2 separate regions of the Homo sapiens genome follow, and region 2 is linked to region 1. Evidence: promoter capture Hi-C in human tissues and cell types (Jung and others, 2019). All regions are on one chromosome and are shown on one strand. The core of a region is centred on a gene start or on the middle of the fragment in contact, and the rest is flanking DNA. Distances in the headings are between cores, read along the strand shown. Region 1 holds the start of ASXL3 (ASXL transcriptional regulator 3). Region 2 overlaps ASXL3 (ASXL transcriptional regulator 3).

What was found. Contacts are between HindIII fragments. The study calls those that stand out against the background at their distance.
Region 2: a fragment that was not itself captured here is called in contact with the fragment with the promoter of ASXL3 in region 1 in 1 of the 25 tissues and cell types used here (bladder).

What each region holds. Positions count from the first base shown.
Region 1 is chr18:33,576,921-33,580,741 of GRCh38, reverse strand. It overlaps ASXL3 (ASXL transcriptional regulator 3), which reads right to left and starts at 2,523. Exons shown (of 12, transcript NM_030632.3): 1 at 2,057-2,523. The coding sequence starts at 2,110. RefSeq lists enhancers at 1,207-2,194, 2,195-3,183. The HindIII fragment of the contact is 10,160 bases long and covers 1-3,821 here.
Region 2 is chr18:33,722,964-33,726,872 of GRCh38, reverse strand. The region is part of intron 8 of ASXL3 (ASXL transcriptional regulator 3); the gene reads right to left. Among named protein-coding and RNA genes, the nearest start is that of ASXL3, 150 kb to the right of the region's middle. The HindIII fragment of the contact is 5,250 bases long and covers 1-3,909 here.

The DNA.
Region 1 (3,821 bases), core at 1,274-3,773:
TTTTCCCATCAACGAACTTTTCGAGAGGAAAATCCAACTTTTAACAAAAACCTGTGACTTAGAAATCTCTTTCAAATTATATCAATACAGATATATCATTATTAGATCAAATAAAACACAGTACCTTCAAGAATAGTAACATATACTGATTGAATACAAATGGCTAGCTTTAAATTCCATCAGAGTAATGTTATTTATTAAATAATTCTCTGCAGGCAGATATGGCTAATTCATGACTTATTATTTTTAAATATTTATAAATCAACTCATTGTTCACTTGCTTAAAATATACACTAAAGCTCTCTAATAGTACTTGATTGCCACTCCACGGAACCTGAATAATGCATTTTCAGAAGCCTTGCACATCCCCACACAATTCTGAATTAATGGCCGAGCAAACAATAAGTAATGTACTATGCTCCAGCAAAAACTCATTGACAACATCAATCTGGCATCTACTTAACACTTACTGCTTACTTCTCACATATTCCCCACAACTTAAGTTTCCTCTTCCAGATGCAGTTCATTAAAGAATCACTATCACCTGCCCATTCATCCACAGAGTGAGAGATTTAGCGATTAACGCAATCACAGATAAGTGGAGAAATAACATACAACACTACAAAATTAAGAGATTAAGTAAAGGGACCTGGGCACTCCAGCTACCAATAACTAGATTGCAATTAAAAAGGACTTTGTCACTTCTTCGCTGGGCAATAGGGCCAATTATCTAAAACCCTTTGCTAGAATCCAGATACATACCAGAGCAAGGCCCTTCAACCAAACTCAGATAATTACTTTTGACAAATGTTCTCCTTGAGCATAATGTAGTTACTCAAATGCTTTTCAAAATGACTACAGTTACAGTAAAACAATCTTTACAAAGTCAACCCAATAACACGTCCTGCTCCCCCCTCCCAAAACCCCCGCTGCATGCAGTCTGCTTTCTTTTGGCCAATTTATAACAGATAGTAAGCTGGCGAATAAATGTTTAATTTATGCAGCCAAAACCCTGAAAGGCTTAGCTTCAAATGTAATGCCTGGCATTCCCGAGACACACTGTACAGAAATATCCTTTTGAAAAATCCTTTTACAGCTGTCCTTTAAAAGAAGATAGGAAGAAAAAAGAAAGAAAGAAAAGAAAAACCCACACATATACATGCATCAAACCAAAGACGCCGACGCCCCTCTGCCAACCGGCATTTCTATAGAGACATTCTTTCGATGATTAAAACGTAAGCTCCGAAAGGTTAAAGAAAAGGAAAAGCAGCCAAGTAACACCGCCCAGGAAGCCAGCAGTAAAATACACCTAGCTGTACACTCTTAATAACCTCCCACTACAAATGACACTGACCCAACTTCACCAAACACACACACACCCGAAACACACTCACAAATTGCACACACGTGCACAGAATGTACACACAAACATCGAGCAGAGCACAATACCTACAAACACAAACGAACTGGAGCCACACAAAACATGCACGTATCAGTGTGCACACATAATGCACACGACATGGCACACAGACACGCAACCACCTAGCCCACATGCACACGCCCCACAAGTCCGTGTCGGACACACACCATGCATGCACGTGTAAAATGTTTGAACTCACAAACGCCGAACATACACACAGACTGTGCACAGAGTTATTGATGAAATTCCGGGGGGTGGAGGGGCCGGGAGGGAGTGGTAATTGCCACACAAAGGTCTCCGGAGCGGCAGAGAGGGAAGTCGAGCTGCGCCGAGCGCTCGGAAATTCACCCGTGGAGAAGGCACAGCAGAGCCCCGAGAGCGAAGTACGGGGAGAAGTGTCCCGGGCGGTCCCGGACGCGGGGCTCCCGGAGATAATCGCTGCGCCCCTCCGCGCGCGCACGCACACACACAGGGGCCCCCGGGCGAGCCCACTCCCGCAGAATAACAAAGAGCAGGAGCCCGGCGAGCGGGCGGCGGCTCGGGCTGGAAGTGGCCGTCTCCGCCGCCGCGGACCGGCGCGGGGCGAGCGGCGGGGCCGGCGGGAGGCGCGGGCGGCGTGTGGGGGGCGGTACGTACCAGGCGGGCAGCCTCGGCCCAGGTGCGGTCCTTCTTCTTCCTCTTGTCTTTCATGTTTGCATCTCATTGATGGTTCTGATGATGACGTGGGGGATTCCACGGGGTGCTCGGGGTTCGGGCGCGGAGACAATGACCCAGTGACCCGGTGACCCGCACTCGCTCCGCGGGGGGAGGCGCGCGGGCGGTGGCGGCGGCGGCGGCGGCGGCGGCGGCGGCGGCGGCGGCGGGTGGGAGGGATGGAGCGAGGGGGTGGGGTGGAGTGGGTGGGGGCGCGCGACGGCGGCGGCGGCGGCGCGCGGCGGGCGGGCCGGGGGCGGGGGCGGCGGCAGCAGCGGGGCCCGGGCCAGGGGCGGGGGCGGCGCCGGCCGGGCTCGCTCGTGCGGGGCTCGCGCTGCGCCACCGCCGCGGCCGCTGCGGTGACAGCTCCGGGGATGCTCCGCTCGGCCCCGCTCACAACAATACACTCTGACGTCACGGGGAATGGCGACGCGGCCGCACACTCACCGCGCTCACACTCGCCGCGCTCACACTCGCCCTCTCGCGCGCGCACACCCGTGCACACTCGCCGCGCGCCCCCTACTCCAGCCACGCCCTGAAACCCTCGCGAGACCCCTCTCCCTCCAACTCAGCCCCCAAATTCCTGGGGCGCTGCCCACTCCGTGCAGGCCGTTCCACCCGCTTCCCGCTGTCCCGCTCAGGCCGAAAGCCGCGGACACGGTGGCCTTTGGAACTTGTGTAGGAGTCCGCCCCGCACCTCGACGCCTCTGTCCTGTGCGCTCACGCGTGCACACTCACTCACACACACACCGCACTACTCTCCTCTGTTGGACTGCCTTAACCCTGTCTCTGCTTGGCTGGGGGAACTCCCAGAGCCTTGTTGAAAGGGTACAGAGCCAGTGTCTTCGGATACAGAACTAATAATGTACGTGCAACTTAACACAATGTTGAACCACCTACAGCATCTCAAACAATGCAGGACCAAAGAGCCGTCACCGTGGATCCACGCGATGCCATACCGTAGGGCTAATTATATTTAAACAGCGTGTAGTCAACATTCTGTAGAGTAAAACATGATGCACATGGAAAAAACTGAAAAGCTAACGCTTGTGTATTTTTTAAATTATAATTTTCAGGTCTGGGATACATGAAGTGTTGGATTGTTATCCTTATTAGCGAACTACCAAAAAATATGTTAAGACTTAAAAGTTTATGGTAATCTTTCCAACTTCATACATCTCTAGTGAATTGTTTGGGTCAGTAGAGTTATTTAAGCAAAGAAAAAAATGACGCTGTGACCCACACAGTAATTATGTGTATTTGTCTTGAGTATCTGAAAACAAAAAGGTCACTTCTACTGGATTATTTTTCTGAAGTTATTTCCTGAATAGGATATTAATGGTATATAAATAGTACTTTGTGTTTTTTCATACACATTATATCGTTTGATCCCCAAAACAGCTCAGTTAAACATATATTTCCCCTCTACTGTACAAATGAGGAAATGAAACTCAAAAACATGACAATGTATCCAAGATATCTTGCTAAATCATTTTTAATAATTCAAGTCTTTTGACCCTAATCTCATGTTGTTTATTCAATTCTATACTGCCTGTTTAAAAATAGTCTTGTCTAAAAAATGAACACTTACATCTAATGAAGAGATTTATGTCTCAGAATGAGAACAATTATAGTAAGGTGATTCCTTTGAGAGCACTGTCAAATGATTGGAGTAATAAAAATGTTTGATTACCAAAAATTAAACAGA
Region 2 (3,909 bases), core at 1,261-3,760, 150 kb before region 1:
AGCGGAGGGGACAGGATCACACTGGGCCTTGTCACCCACTATACAGACTGCCTTCTCCCTTGAGGGGGCTGGAAAGCCTTTGGAGGGTGTTGGTCCAAAGAATGATAAGAGCTGACATTTCCAAAGGGTAGCTCTGACTGCTGTGTTTAGAAAAATATTTAGAGTACTGCTGTCTAATAGTATAAAGGTGAGTCACATATGTGATTTCAATTTTTCTACTAATCATGCTGGAAAAAATAAAAGAAACATGTAATTAATTTCAATAATGCATTTTCTTAATCCAAACTATCGAAAATATTATTTCAACATATATTCAATATAAAATATTGTTAATGAGATATTTTACATTCTCTTTGAATATGAATTCTTCAATATCCAGTGGATCTTTTTAATAGCACATCTCATTTCATATTCTAGTGAGCCGTATTTCTAGTTCTCAAAAGCCTCAAGTGGCTAGTGGCTATTGTACTAGACAGCATAGCTTTAGCAGATAAAGATCTACCAGGAACACTAGTATATAGGGTTTACAATAATCCAGGAAAAAAATGATAGTAGCTTGGACTGGGATAACCGCACTGGAGGCAGCGTGAAATGGTTAGGTTCTGATTACATCCTGAAGGTTGAGCCAGCATAATTTGATGATAGATTAAATGTGTGGTATGAAAGAGGGCAGGCAAGGCTGATATCAAGAATTTTTGGACTTAGGAATGAAACGTAGAAAACTGCTAATTAGTTTTTAAAAGACAAGACTATAGGCAGAGGAGGTTTGTTTTAGCACTACATCAGGTTGAGATGCTGATTATAATTCCCAGTAGATGTCTTCCATATGTTACTCCTACTGCAGTGTAGAGGATGCCCTGGACAAAGGCAAGACTAAGACAGGGATTTCTGTTAACTAGCATCAAGAGCAAGCGGAACCAATGATGAAAAGTCTTAAGATTGTTCAGGTAGAGGAAACAGAGAGGAAGGAGAATATTCAAGATAAGTATACAAACCAGAATTGATGGCACTGAGTGATCACTGGGGCTGAGAAAGATGAGACAAAAAGATGTGGAAGATGCTTCCCAGGAATAAGGCTTGCTAACTGAGTACATGCTGGCACCAAACATCAGAACAGGAAAAGGCACAAGAGGGAAACAGTATTTAGAAACAAGAAATGAAGGCTTTGGATATGTTGATGTAAGGATATCTTGATGGCATCCAAATAAAGATGTCTAGTCAGTAACTGAGAATAGGGCAAGATGCTCAATGGTAAATATTGTTTTCAAATAGGAATGATTAGCAAATAAAGTGTAGTTGGAAACATGGGTATAGATGAGAACATTGGAAGAATATTTACCAAAAGAGAAGGTGGCTTAAAGCAGAGTCCTGAGGAATACTAATGTAACAGGAATGAGGAGGTAAAGTAGATCCTGTTAGGAAGACTAAGCAAAAGTAGAAAGAGGTAGGAAGAAAATCGGAGCAAGTGGCATCATATTGATAGGTGTAAGGGAAGAATGTGTTTGCAGAAGGTGATCTGTATTGTGGATGTGCTAATATCTATCAAGCCTTTTAGCATTACTAAGGTAAACAGTGTGTGCAGTATAGTACATTAGCTGTTGTGTCCAATACAAAAATCAATAGGATCTTTAGAGCAAAGACAACCCAGACAGTGAGACACTAATCAGGAGTCTAATACAATACAAAAGAGCAATGAGCATATGAACCATCATATGCTGTTATCATTGAGCCACTTATACCCTGCATGATCAAGCACCCAGTGCCCTTGTAGTCTACATCCCAGTACGAATAAAAGCCAGAGTATTGACTCTCTTTAAAAGGTAAATTTTAATTTTTTCCTTACCACTAAGTATAATTCAGATGGCCCAGGAGACTCTATAGACATGCTCAAGATTTATCCACAAGGGAAAATATTATTCTTTAGAATAACATAAAGATAGGCATAAAAATGAAAGAAGGCTGTTAAAAGGGATGGATTCCCTAAAGGAGATAGATCAGCAATATGCCAAAGACAATTTTGCAAATAACTTTTCAAAGATATTTCCAAAATTGCAGTAAGACAATATTACCAAAATTGTGTTTTGCAAAATAGGTATTTTAATAGGTAAATCCATCTAAAAGAAATGCAGTCTTCCATACAATAAATATAGCCTGACTGTATTAAATATGGTTAAGTAGTTTCATTTACTGTATTATCTAATATGCTAAAATTTATTTTAAATTCTGAAGAATAAATTATACAGTATTTCCCACACTTTTATACTTTATAATCCTCTCACAGAACAACCATCAGTATCTCATAGAACAACTATTCCCCAGAATAGTTTGGGAACTGATGCATTAAGAGTTGTAAAAGTATCACTGACAGAAACAGCCACATGTGATAAGCATGAGACAATGAATTTCCCCATGCTAGAGACTATATTCCTCTTTAACAAATGAATATAAGTTTCTAAGATCTGAAAATGGGACAATTTTGAGAATATTGTGAGAACCAAGTATTCAGAATAAATAGTGACAAAATATTAAAGATGATGTAATAAACTTTAACCTACAAGCTTGAACAACCTCAAGTTCAAAGCCACTGAAGGAAACAATTCTTTGCAACCACTGTCAAAAAAGTCCTAATATATATAATAATTTTTTAAATATTGTGATTATAATGCTGTAATCAAGACTCTATCTAGTCATATGAGGACTCAATAAAAAATGTTATACAGGCATATCACAAAGACATTGCAAATTCAGTTCCAAACTACGACAATAAAGTGAATGTTGCAAAAAAGTAAGTCACATAAACGTTTTGGTTTCCCAGTACATATAAAAGCTATCACTATACTGTAGTCTATTAACTGTACAATAGCATTATGCTAAAAATCAATTTACATACCTTAATTAAAAATACGTTATTACTTAAAATGATAACAGTAATCTGAGCTTTCAGTGAGTCATAATCTTTTTGCTGACGGAGGGTCTTGCATGGATGTTGATGGCTGCTGACTGATCAGGGTGGCTGGTGGCTGCTGAAGGCTGGAATGGCTATGATAATTGCTTAAAATAAGCTGACAATAAAATTTGCTGCATTAGTTGACTCTTCCTTTCCCAAAAAACTTATCTGTAGCATGTGATGCTGTTTGATAGCATTTTGCCCATAGCAGAACGTCTTTCAAAATTGGAGTCAATTCTCTTAAACTCTGCCGCTGCTTTATCAACTAAGCTTATGGAATATTCGAAGTCCTTTGTTTTTACTTCAACGATGTTCACAGCTATCTTAACCCAGAGTCAATTTCATCTCAAGAAACCACTTTCTTTGCACATAAGAAGCAACCCCTCACTTGTGAAAGTTTCATCCTAAGATGGCAACAACTCAGTCACATCTTCAGGCTCTACTTCTAATTCTAGTTCTCTTGCTATTTGCACCACATCTGCAGTGACTTCCTCCACTGAAGTCTTGAACTCCTCAAAGTCATCTATAAGTATCAGAATCAACTTCTTTCAAAGTCCTGTTAATGTTGCTATTTTGACCTCCTCCCACGAATCACAAATGTTCTTAATGGCATCCAGAATGGTGAATTCTTTCCAAAAGACTTTCAATTCACCTTGCTCAGAACCATCAGAGGAATCACTACCTATGGCAGCCACAGCCTTAGAAAATGCATTTCTTAAATAATAAGACTTGAAAGTCAAAATTACTCCTTGATCCATATGCTGCAGAATAGGTATTGCATTAGTAATATGAAAACATTATTCTCTTTTTACATCTCTGTCAGCTTCTTCAGTGACCCCACTGCATTGTCAATGAGCAGTAATATTTTGAAAAGAATATTTTTTCTGAGCAGTAAGTCTCAACAGCGGACTTAAAATATTCAGTAAGCCATGTTGTAAACAGATGTGCTGTCACTCAGGCTT